3 separate regions of the Homo sapiens genome follow, and all the other regions are linked to region 3. Evidence: promoter capture Hi-C in human tissues and cell types (Jung and others, 2019). All regions are on one chromosome and are shown on one strand. Each heading gives the region's core, a stretch centred on a gene start or on the middle of the fragment in contact. The rest is flanking DNA. Distances are from core to core; before and after follow the strand shown. Region 1 overlaps LOC105373855 (a long non-coding RNA gene). Region 2 overlaps PTH2R (parathyroid hormone 2 receptor). Region 3 holds the start of UNC80 (unc-80 subunit of NALCN channel complex).

Region 1 (3,575 bases), core at 401-2,900, 1.4 Mb after region 3:
AAATTTGCTTTTATTCTCTCCACAAACAGAGCTTTTATGTTTGTGCAATAAAAGTTCAAGAGATACATATACATCTGGTTAAATACTTACTGAGACATCAAATATAATGTTTATTAGTTGAATATAATGCACATAAATCACATTTCCAATAAAATATACATATGCTTTGGAAATTAAAGAGACTATTTTAGCAATTATATAGTGAACTCTTGCTGACCTAACTTGCAAAATATTTAGATAAAATTAAGTTATTGTCTGATTCATCCATGTCTAAAATGATTTTACCCACATTAAAATAAATCAATGAGATCTTTATAAAAGGTTATAGATAGTACCACAAACCTAATACCAAAATAACCACTAATATAATCTACTCTGAACCATCCCTTAGTGATCCGGATGTTGCTATTTTTACTAGGATACCAGGTTAAACTAGACATCTGAAAAAGACATTCTAATGAGAAATTCAAATAGCTCTTGCTACCCCTGGAAATATAAGAATACTCCACCGAAGGACATATCCTTTCATTTTAGGCAGTCCCCAAAGAGAGGTGCTGGTGACTAACTTAATGACTGGGAAGATATTTATGCTGAGTATGTCTCAGGATATTATAACAATATATTACAGGAGAAAAGGTCTATCAAAGTCAATTCTACCACTTACATTTTGAAGAATTTAGACATTACTATTTAGAATTCATATTTTATTTTGTTTTCAATAAACAAGTACTCTACTAGCCTCTGGACATATAACCACTACAATATAATATTTTAGTAAGGTATAAACAGAAGTGTTTTCTGAAAAACAAAATAGGTCAAATCGCTGAAAGAACTAACTTGGGTTTTAAGAAGAGTTTAATTTTCCAGGTGCTATAACTGGAGACCTATTGAAATACAGTTTTACTTTCCATAGGGTTATTAATGAAGGGGTAAGGCCCCAGAGACAGGGTGAGTATCAGTAAAAAGGGCTGAAAGGACATCAGCATAGAGGTTCATAGCTCCACACTACATGCTGGGAAGGAAAAGGTGAACAGCAGGTATGAACTTTTCTCTATCAGAAAGGAAAGAAAAACCTCAAATAAATCTCTTGGTAAACATGCTATGTTGGGAGTCCTCAAAACCACCACCATCATGCTTAATGATTTGCTAGAAGGACTCATAGGACTCAGAAGATGTTGTCTCATGGTTATGATTCCTCAGAGTGAAAGGATACAGATTAAATTCAACATAGGGAAAAGTCACATAAGATGATGTTCAGGCAGAACCAGGAACAAGCTTCCAGGGGTCTTCTCCCAGTGGAGTCACACAGATGCACTTAATTCTCCCAGCAATGATGTATGACACCTTGTGCAAAGTGTTGCCAACTAGGGAAGCTTATCTGAGTCCTGGTGTCTAGGGTTTTTAATCACCTACTTGGAACCCAGCCCCACCATAACCCTGCCACAAGCAAAAATAGGCATTCACAGATGACATTGTTAGCATAAACTACCTGGTCAAACTGGTACAGCATAGCCCAAGGCTGCAGATATACAAACCACTCTTATCCAGCAGATTATGCCGAGGACTTAGAGCTCATCTCCCAGAAACCAGCCAAGGGCCAGTCCTGAGGACTGGCCTTTCTTGGGAATGTGCAGGGTTTGAGCAACCCAGACCTACTGAGTTAACCCTTCCCTGAACACATGTGAATAACCAAATTTTCCAGTAAACTCACTAAGTATTTACTAGGAATGGAAAGATAATGGAGAGTATAAAATGTTTTTAGGAGCACACATCTTGATTGTGTGTATAAATAAACTTAGAATTCACAGGTTTCTGGGTGATAGGGGAAACTAAGAGATGATTATGTAAACAATAAGGTATGAAGAAGAGACATTGCATAACTGGAATTATTCCCTTTGTTTGAACGATGTCTCTGCACATATTGCTTATAAAGAAGCTTGTCTATTAAATCTAAAACTTATCCTACTGCATGAGAATAGGGTTATTTTGGAAATCTGTGCCAAATGGTCTCAGACTTCTCCAAGAAAAGACTGTTTTATTTGTGCCTGGTGTTTGCCTGGTCCTTTGAATTCTGAGTCAAGTTTGGGACTGGTTAAGAGCTAGAATTCAAGAGAGTCTAATTTTATAATTCCAGTATATGTGTTATCACAAGAGATACAGACAACTCTTTTCTGCCTTAAGATTCAAACAGCACAAAATCGAGATAGTAAATAAATTAATTAGTAATACAATAACTTATGGAAAGAGAGAAATCACTTTAAACAGTTTTAAGGGAATTGATCTAATTACATTCCCCAAACCACATCCAGACACCTCATATAAAGCTCTAAAATGATTATCTAAGTAGAATACAATGCCCCTAAAGAAGCTTTTCATTTTGAACACAAGAGCGTGATTGTCTTTCTTCTATGCCTTTGCAGTTTCTTGGTCTGAGGACACATGTCTAATTATCCACCAAATCACCAAGATCATCAGAAATGATTGGAACATTGACAGTAGCTGCTACAAAAAGTAACACTTCCAACCAACCATTACCATAAACTCATAGAAACTTTTTATTCCATTTCTTGCATGAGACATGTTTGACTTCCACGGCCATTCTGGCATCAGATCCTTAAAGAAAATGCCAAGGAGTGATAAATGTGACTCTATTTATATGTTAAAAATTAAGTAAACCACCATTTCACTAATTATAATGAGGATATATCTGCTCTGGAACTTAAGACTACTTCATTCTGAGACAAAAGAAACTAACTTTTTTTAATGAAATGCCTAGGGTGACAAATTCAGTCTTTTCTATGACTTCTGTGGCTTAAAGAATATTAATATCAAAGACCCAATGAATTAATTTTCAATTATTTGATTTTAGTTTTAAGTTTCATGAATAAATTGCTTTCTAGTAATCATTGTTACAGGAGTTATTAAAAAATTATTTTAGGCAGATAAAGAAGAAAAGGGGTCCTTGGGAAGTTTATTTTTCTTTTAAATCAGCTCCAGAAATGTTTCTTGCCTAGCAGAAAAACCCTGGCAGGCAAGCTTTGATATGCAAATGCAGGCCATTAGAAACTAGGTCCACCAAACATGGCGATTCCTGCCATCTTCTTGTGCCCACATGTGCCTGGCAACATGGCCACCCCACATATCCCCACATGTGTAGAACATCATGGTGCCCTTCATTTGCATATTAAAAGGCTAGGGTGGGAGGGCCAGTTTTTTCACCGGCTACTTGAATGACATACCTGGTCAAACCAATCCTCTGGGCACTATGCCAGTAAGACACCGCCTCCTCCAGCCTCCTCATATAAATGGCTGTTTTTCACCGCACTCAGGGTTCCCTCTTTCAGCTTAGAGCCCCCCCACCTCTATCTCTGTACAGAGGGAGCCTCTTCCTTCTTTCTTGCCTATTACAATTCTCCACTCCCTAAAGCCACTCCACATGTGTCTGTGTCGTTTTATTCAAACCGGTGCAAGACCAAGGACCCTGGTGTTCCTCCAGTCATCAAAGCCATATGATTTTGGTGCATTGGCCAGGAATCCAAGGTACAGCATTCATCAGAGTGGTAAGTATGGGAGTA
Region 2 (3,387 bases), core at 434-2,933, 1.3 Mb after region 3:
AGTGATTAACTCTCGTAATCTACACTATTATTCCCATCTTTTAGATGGCAAAAGGGGATTGTGAGTTTAAATAACTTGCCCAAGGCCAGCCTGTACCATAAAATTTCAGCCTGCACGCTCAACAACAGGGCAGACCTGGGATGCTAACGAAGGCAGTCTCGCCCAGAGCCTATGCTGTAACCACTGTGACACTGTCAAGTGGTCAGAAAAGGGATGTCTGAAGAGGTTGTCCGTAAGCTGGGACCTGAAGGAAGAATGGACAAGCAGGGGGAACAGTATGGCAGGCATACAGAACAGCACAGGCAAAGGCCCTGAGGTGGGAACAGTGTAGCATGTTCAGGAAACTAAAGAAAGCCATTGTGTGGAGCTGAGGCAGCAGGAGGGAGAAGATGAGATGACATGAGATGGGGGAGGAAGAAGGGACCAGGTCATGGAAATGAGGAAAATGTGTATGCCAAGTGTGAAGGGACAGTGCTCAGAATTCCAAGCCCTAACTCTCTCAGCCCCATGTCCTTTCCACTTCATATCACTGTGGCTTAAACCCCCACCCAGCAGACACCCACAGTGGTTACCCACTGCCAGCTTCAACGAAGCCCTGAGATCTTTCCAAATGAAAAACCTGATTCCTTCACTTTCCAATGTCTAAACCTTTGGTTGTCATCCCTTGCAAGATTAGGTGTCAATTCTTTAGTGAGGCTTAGAAGCCCCTTCAGGGTCTGGCCCGGCCTCCTTTGCAGCCTCAGCTCTTGACATTATTCCACACCCACGCTCAACCTTGGCACAGACCATTGGAATGCTCTCGTACCACTTGCCAACCTGTGATGAATAAATTTCCCCCATTAATCACTACCACCTTTGCTCATGATTTTGTGTTTATTATTTACTTCCAATGCAGATATTAAATTAGTTTTTTTCCTGAATGTTAATCATGCTTACAGAGCTCTGGTCTTTGGCATTCTAAGTGAAATAATCACTGTCCTTGGAATCCAGGTTTTAAAACATATCAACTTGGGTTCACTGTGTATAATCCAAGCTCCTGGATTTCCAGGATTTCTGTGTGTGCTTCAAGTTGATCCTCTGAACCGGTGCCACTGGCAATCTAACTACCTGGTGTTACACATCACACAATTATCCACACAGGCCTTCCACATTCTTATTCCCAGGAGGGCCAAATCTCTCTCCTAGGAGCTCTATATTCTTGAGGTGTATCTTCTTGTCTCTTGAGATATTCCCCTCTTCTGAATTGAAAACTATACCTTGGAGCTTTTCATTATAATTCTATTTTTTCTTTCCTTTAGTTTTCCACTTGCTTTTTTAGTTTTTCTCCTTCTTAACTCAGCCTTCTCTAAATTATTGATTAAAATAAGTAAATTATTTATTTCAAATCCAATTCTTGACATTTTATGAAAACTTTCAGATACACTAGTAGATTGTGAGTAAGTTAAGAGCCTTCAAGGGAATTGTGATAACACTAAATTATAATAATGAAACAAAAAGGTAACTCTTAGTGAACAGAAAGATATTCTTGAGTCTCAGCTGTGATTTTTGAGATTAAATCAACTTCATAATATAGGAAAAGTACTTCAGAATTCTTAGCTTAGAACTGTCATAATTTTAGCTCAAGAAGATGAAAATGGCCTTCTACATTAATTTTCTTCAAAGTTTATTGAGTGTGCCATCACTTCTATTTCTCCTTCGCCAACAGCGAATCTTCAAAAGCCCTTTAATCACCTAGCTTTACTGTTTCACATTACAAGTTACAAATCTCAGAAAATAAATTTTTCATCCATGGTGATGATGTGAGTGACTTAGATCTGTAAACAAACTATAAAGCTTTGGATAAAAATCAGTCATTTCCATGGAAAATGCCCTAGGATTTCCTTTTCTCCACTGTCCTTTGCTTCAATTCCTGATAATTTTACAAGGATCTCTTGCATTTCAATAGGTCCTTCCTTTTCATCAAATGTAAAATCATATTTAATCATTATATAATCATTATATTAAAATGTGGGTAAAATTAAGAGCATTAATTAACTCTTATTGGTCAGTTTCAGTACAAGACACTGAAGGCAAAGAAAAAGTAACAAGATAAAGATTGTTCCCTTAAAAAGATAATAGTAAGATATGGAGAAGCAAACACACAGAGGAGGAACTAGAAAGGAGGAAAATAAAAGGCTTAAAAGTATAAATAAGGATTAAATACCAATGAGTGAAAGGGAAATCTGAGCAGTTAATTTTTATCTTTAAGTTCACTGATGTCTCTCAGGGATATAGTTACAGATCTAGGATTTTTTTCACTAAATTAATGTAGCAGCATTTGATTTACATTAAAAATTAAAATTACAGGTGTTTATACATTTAAGCCATGCATTCATCCATAATCGATTTTTGAGCTTCTCCTAGGATATATGGAATTGGGACCAATTTGTTAATAGGATGGTTTAGCAAGGATACAAAATAGCTTCTCTAAACGTGTTCTGTATTTTATTTCCGTCTCTAAACATTTATTTCAATGGGCTTCTAAACTGAAGATTCCTTTTGATCTCTCCTATTTTCTTTATGCATTTTTCCTATGAGGTAAATAAGCTTTTATCTGATTCTTTGGATGAGGTTACAATACCTCAACTACATTAATAGCTGCCCTTCTGACAAAGTAGGTGACACATTGTCCAAAAGAAAACAAGAAGAATATGAAACTGGGAAACAAAGAAAAACATCAAAATTAGTTAATAATCAAGTTGCTACATTGTTTTCTAATTTAACATTTATTATCAAGATAGTAATTATTTTTTTAAAATGCTTGTAATATGTATTACATACATGAACACCAGGAAAACACAAGGTGGTGTAATTTCTTCAACAACCCAAAAGAAGCTGATGCCTTAAAGTCTTCAAAGAAGATCAAGAGTAAACATTTTGATAAGTTTTATTAGATACAAAGAAGTGTGTGGTTTTGTTTTCCTTTGCAACACAGATGCAATGTGCATTGGAAATATTATAGGCAGATAAGGTCCAGTGCAACATGCATTGTGGTCTTTCTCCCTATTATTAGGTTAGTGAAAAAGTAATTGTGTTTTTTGCCATTACTTTCAATTCTATCTAATACCTATTAGATAGAATTATGTGGGATACTTCTTGGTATAAGATGTACTTAACTCCTTGGGGAAAGTATGCCAAATAAAAGATTTAGGGAATACTTTATACATCATATTACCATTCTTCTCTCTCAGTAATTTCTCTGTTTTCCTGCTATTCCACCTTTTCCTCCCTGTCACACTGACCTACTACCAGGTGATCAGAATGTTAAAGTGGTAAAATAATATCGTGGATGAAAAGGAGACATAGGGCCTTCCAACTCCCTAAACATATAAATGCTCATAGATATTT
Region 3 (3,954 bases), core at 505-3,004:
GTAGGTGCTAATTTCCTTTAACATGTTTCCTCTGCTCTTCCCTCAGCTGTCCTTCCCTCCCTTCCCCTTGTGTCTTTGGCCAAGGTTCACATTAATGGGTAGATAAGCCTTATCTATCCATTCTTATAAAACTCCCCTCCCTAGTGCTTCCTAGTATTTCTTTTTGCTTAATTTTTCTCCATAGTGCTTACCACCATCTGGCTTACTATGTATTTACTTATTTGTTTGTGGCTTGTCCCCTTTCTACTAGGATGTAAACACTGTATTTGTTTTTATCATTGTTCTATTCCAGCACAGAGAATTGTGCCTGGCACAGAGTGGGTGATCAATAATATTTGCCAAGTGAATTAATATATATAGTCCGTTTGATTTAAAATCTGTCTTTGGGTTCAAACCACCACACAGAATAGGGAAATAATTATTAAATGGTGAAAATCACATACCACACAAGAAGCTTCATATTGCTTCCCCAGTTTGGGCCTCAAAAATGCACTGAAAAATTAATAGAGATATTTGTTAATAAACATAAGTAAAATTATTATTAAAGCATCCTTGTGACGTATTTTTCAATGAATAAGACAGGATGCTATGAAATTCAAATTTCATGCTTCCTTATAGCTTTTTAATGAGCAGGTGTTGAACAGCTGATGACATTTTCTTTTACACGTGTAATTGCATATATGAAAGAGAAGTGGATCTCGATGGTTTTCGGTATCCACTCTTAATCTGAAGACTTCTAAGATTTTAAATCGCCAGTGGTCAGAAGTGGTGCATTACTTACGTGTACAGTCATAATAAAAACTGAAAATTGAACACGGCTTATGGGTCATAATTTCCAGAATCTAATATCTTATCTGATAAATCTCTAAAATAACAATAATAAAGAAAACCTTTTCTGTTTATTGGAATAGGTGTCAGGCCTTTCCGGGGTTGTGGGGGAAGGTCCCTTATCACAAATCCTCAGGAGATTTAACTGGGGAGATTAATCTGAGCAAAACGGTTAACAAGTGGGCATAGCAGATATTCGCCAAACAGGAGCTGGAAAAACAACAGGTCACTGGGCTAGAATTACAGCAGGAGATGGAGGGGGAATTGGACGCAGGAGCACAACCAGTCATAATTATCTAGCTCCCCGCCCCCTCTTCCCAGGCTCTCTGCCCTCCCACCCCCTAAAATAATGTATACATTTATGCGACAACTGCCAATCTGCTTGTCGTCAAACTTCACTGAAATATATACATATATATACATATTTTAATGCGTGTTTTTAAGCTGGTGCAGAGGGCTTGTTTTCCAGCCCCAGAGAGGGAGCTGCAGGCTGTGGCGCGGCCTCAGCGGCGGCGGCGGCAGCGGCGACCCGGGCGGCCCCAGGAGCGCCCCCAGCCCAGGGCGGCCCGCGGTGCGCCCTCTGCGCCCCTCACCTGGTTTGCCGCCACAGGAAGGTCTGGATGGGCAGGGGGATGCCGCGGCCGCCGTCCTGCTCCTGGCCCTCGGAGCTCTTCCTCTTCACCATAATGGTGGCTCCCGGGAGTCCTACTGCAGGACCCAGCTCTGTCTCCTCGCTAGCCGCCGCCGCCGCCTCCTCCCGCTGCTCCCAACTCTCATCCCCTCCTTCCCCGAGGCAGAGCCGGCTCTCTCCGCCCTGATCCCCCGTGCCTCTCCCCTCCCCCCACCCCTCCCCGCGCGTGGAACATGGCTGCGGGAGGAGGGGAGGGCTGGAGGAGCCGCGGAGCGAGGAGGGGGGCGCTCGGAGCAGCGGTCCGCCTCGCCGCCCCCGCACCCGCTCCCTGCTTTCAGCACCTCCCACTGTGGACAGCGGCCCGCGCCGGGCTGCACGGCCGGAGAAGCGAATCCGGGGCAGCTTGAGCCGCAGGGGTACGGCCCAAGAAGTCCACGCTCCGCATCGCAGGCGCTCGTCCCCTGCGCGGCCTCTTCAGCCCCCGGAATTCGGCTTTCCCCGCTCCGAGCTGCACTCAGGAGTGTCCCCTGTCCTGCTTTCCAACCTCAGCATCCAAACTGTCGCCGTCTGGGTAGGAGGAGCTTTGGGGAACCGCAGAGCAGTCGCTAACCCTGGCATCATTCTCACCTCCAGCAAGGAGATCAGGAGTCCAGGGGTTAGCCGGAGGAACACATGAAAATTATTAGAAGTGTAAACCAGGAAGGTGAGGCAAGGTTGGCAAGTGAGAGGAAGCTTGAAAGATCTTAGATATGAGAAGTTATTTTTATATGATAACCACAAGAAATAAACCTTGTTTGTTTTCCTAAAGCAGGAATACAAAGTTCCCAAAGTAACCAGTTGTGGATATCAGTTAATTGCAAATTGAGGAAGAACATTTGAATCATGCTGTGAGGAAATGTGGTTTATTACAGTCCATTAAATGCACTTGGGTGATCCTGTTCGCCCCCAGTGATAGCTACCATTTTCCTTCAGTTGTAATAGTCAAATGCTTATATGTTACATATATTAATATTTTATAGTTGGATTGCTGTTAGATATATTATCTAGGAGTAAAACAAGTAGGCCGGGGAGGGGGGTGAGGTGGGGTGAAGCAATCGGAATAGTAACTACCTGCAATTCCTCCTCCTCCCCCTCCTCCTTCTCCTTCTTCCTCCTCCTCCTCCCCCTTCTCCTCCTCCTCCTCTTCTCCTCCTTCTCCTTCTTTCTTCTTTCTTGTTCTTTGACGGAATCTCGCTCTTCAACCAGGCTGGAGTGCAGACGTGTGATCACGACTCACTGCAGCCTTGACCTCCCAGGCTCAAGAGATCCTCTCAGCTCAGTCTCCCCAACAGTTGGGACTACAGGTGTGCACCACTACTCCCAGCTAATTTTTTATTTTTGTAGAGATGGGGGTCACACTATGTTTCCCAGGCTAGTCTCAAACTCCTGGGCTCAAGCAATCCTTTCACCTTGGCTTCTCAAAGTTCTGGGATTACAGGCATGAGCCACCATGCCTGGCCTCATCTTTTAGAGCAAAGATATTGGTGTAATCCATGAAATGAAGAATCAGACTCCAGGTCCTAATCTCAACAGATGTAATATTTCATATATAATTAACAGCATAGTATATATCAATATTTTTTGCCATAGAAATAAATTCTTCATTTACTTTCTTGAAGTTATCTTTTATTATGAATCTCAAAAATATGGATCTTATGATCTCAAATATGGATCTTGAAACAAAGAAAGATTCTAAGTACAGTTTACTCAAGGCATATTTATTGAGTGTATTTTATATACTCATAGCTCTATGGAGCTATATGGACTCTTGCTCACAAGGAAGTCTGAATATTAAGAGAAGACAGACATGAAAAGAGAAAAGAATCATGGGAGATACGAATGCAGATTCAGTTATGAACAAAAGGTCAAGGCAGAAATTATGTGTAGGAATCAGATGGAGACTTTGTATGACAGGCTAGAAAGTTTTCCTAGAAGGCCTTTAAGCAGAGAAGTAGAAACTTCATATCCATTTAAGTGTGAATGACATGACAGGAATGTAGGGATTATTTGAAACAGGCAAAAGTTGTATTAGGAACCCCAGTATGAAGATTAGAGAAATGTTTTATGAGATCCTGAACCCTGATCATAATAGCAGAACTACAGACAAGGGGGTGAGTTTGAATAATATTGCAGAGGTAGAATTAATAGGATATGATGACCAAGTGGGTATGGGAAAAGAAAAATAGCACATTGGTTAAGAGCTTAGGTCTTGAGCCAGACAGTTTTGGCTCTAGCCCTACCATTAACTAAATATAATATCCTAGAAAAGTGAAAAAACTGCTAAGATTTTCAAAGAATACCTTCCCCTATAGAGATGTTGTGAGGATTGAATGTTAATACTTGTAAATGAAGAGGACACATGGACACATACAAGGGAACAACACACACTGGTGTCTTTCAAAGGGTGGAGGCTGGGAGTAGGGAGAGGATCAGGAAAAATAACTAATGGGTACTAG

What was found. Contacts are between HindIII fragments. The study calls those that stand out against the background at their distance.
Region 1: a fragment that was not itself captured here is called in contact with the fragment with the promoter of UNC80 in region 3 in 1 of the 25 tissues and cell types used here (mesendoderm cells).
Region 2: a contact is called between a fragment that was not itself captured here and the fragment with the promoter of UNC80 in region 3, in 1 of the 25 tissues and cell types used here (lymphoblastoid cells).

What each region holds. Positions count from the first base shown.
Region 1 is chr2:208,397,359-208,400,933 of GRCh38, reverse strand. It overlaps LOC105373855 (a long non-coding RNA gene), which reads left to right. Exons shown (of 3, transcript XR_001739862.1): 3 at 1-122. It also overlaps a transcript of PTH2R not described here. Among named protein-coding and RNA genes, the nearest start is that of PTH2R, 7.6 kb to the left of the region's middle. The HindIII fragment of the contact is 3,315 bases long and covers 1-3,307 here.
Region 2 is chr2:208,460,199-208,463,585 of GRCh38, reverse strand. The region is part of intron 9 of PTH2R (parathyroid hormone 2 receptor); the gene reads right to left. Among named protein-coding and RNA genes, the nearest start is that of PTH2R, 55 kb to the right of the region's middle. The HindIII fragment of the contact is 5,593 bases long and covers 1-3,387 here.
Region 3 is chr2:209,769,632-209,773,585 of GRCh38, reverse strand. UNC80 (unc-80 subunit of NALCN channel complex) reads right to left here and starts at 1,754. Exons shown (of 65, transcript NM_001371986.1): 1 at 1,422-1,754; 2 at 444-492. The coding sequence starts at 1,513. RefSeq lists an enhancer at 1-195. The HindIII fragment of the contact is 3,928 bases long and covers 1-3,147 here.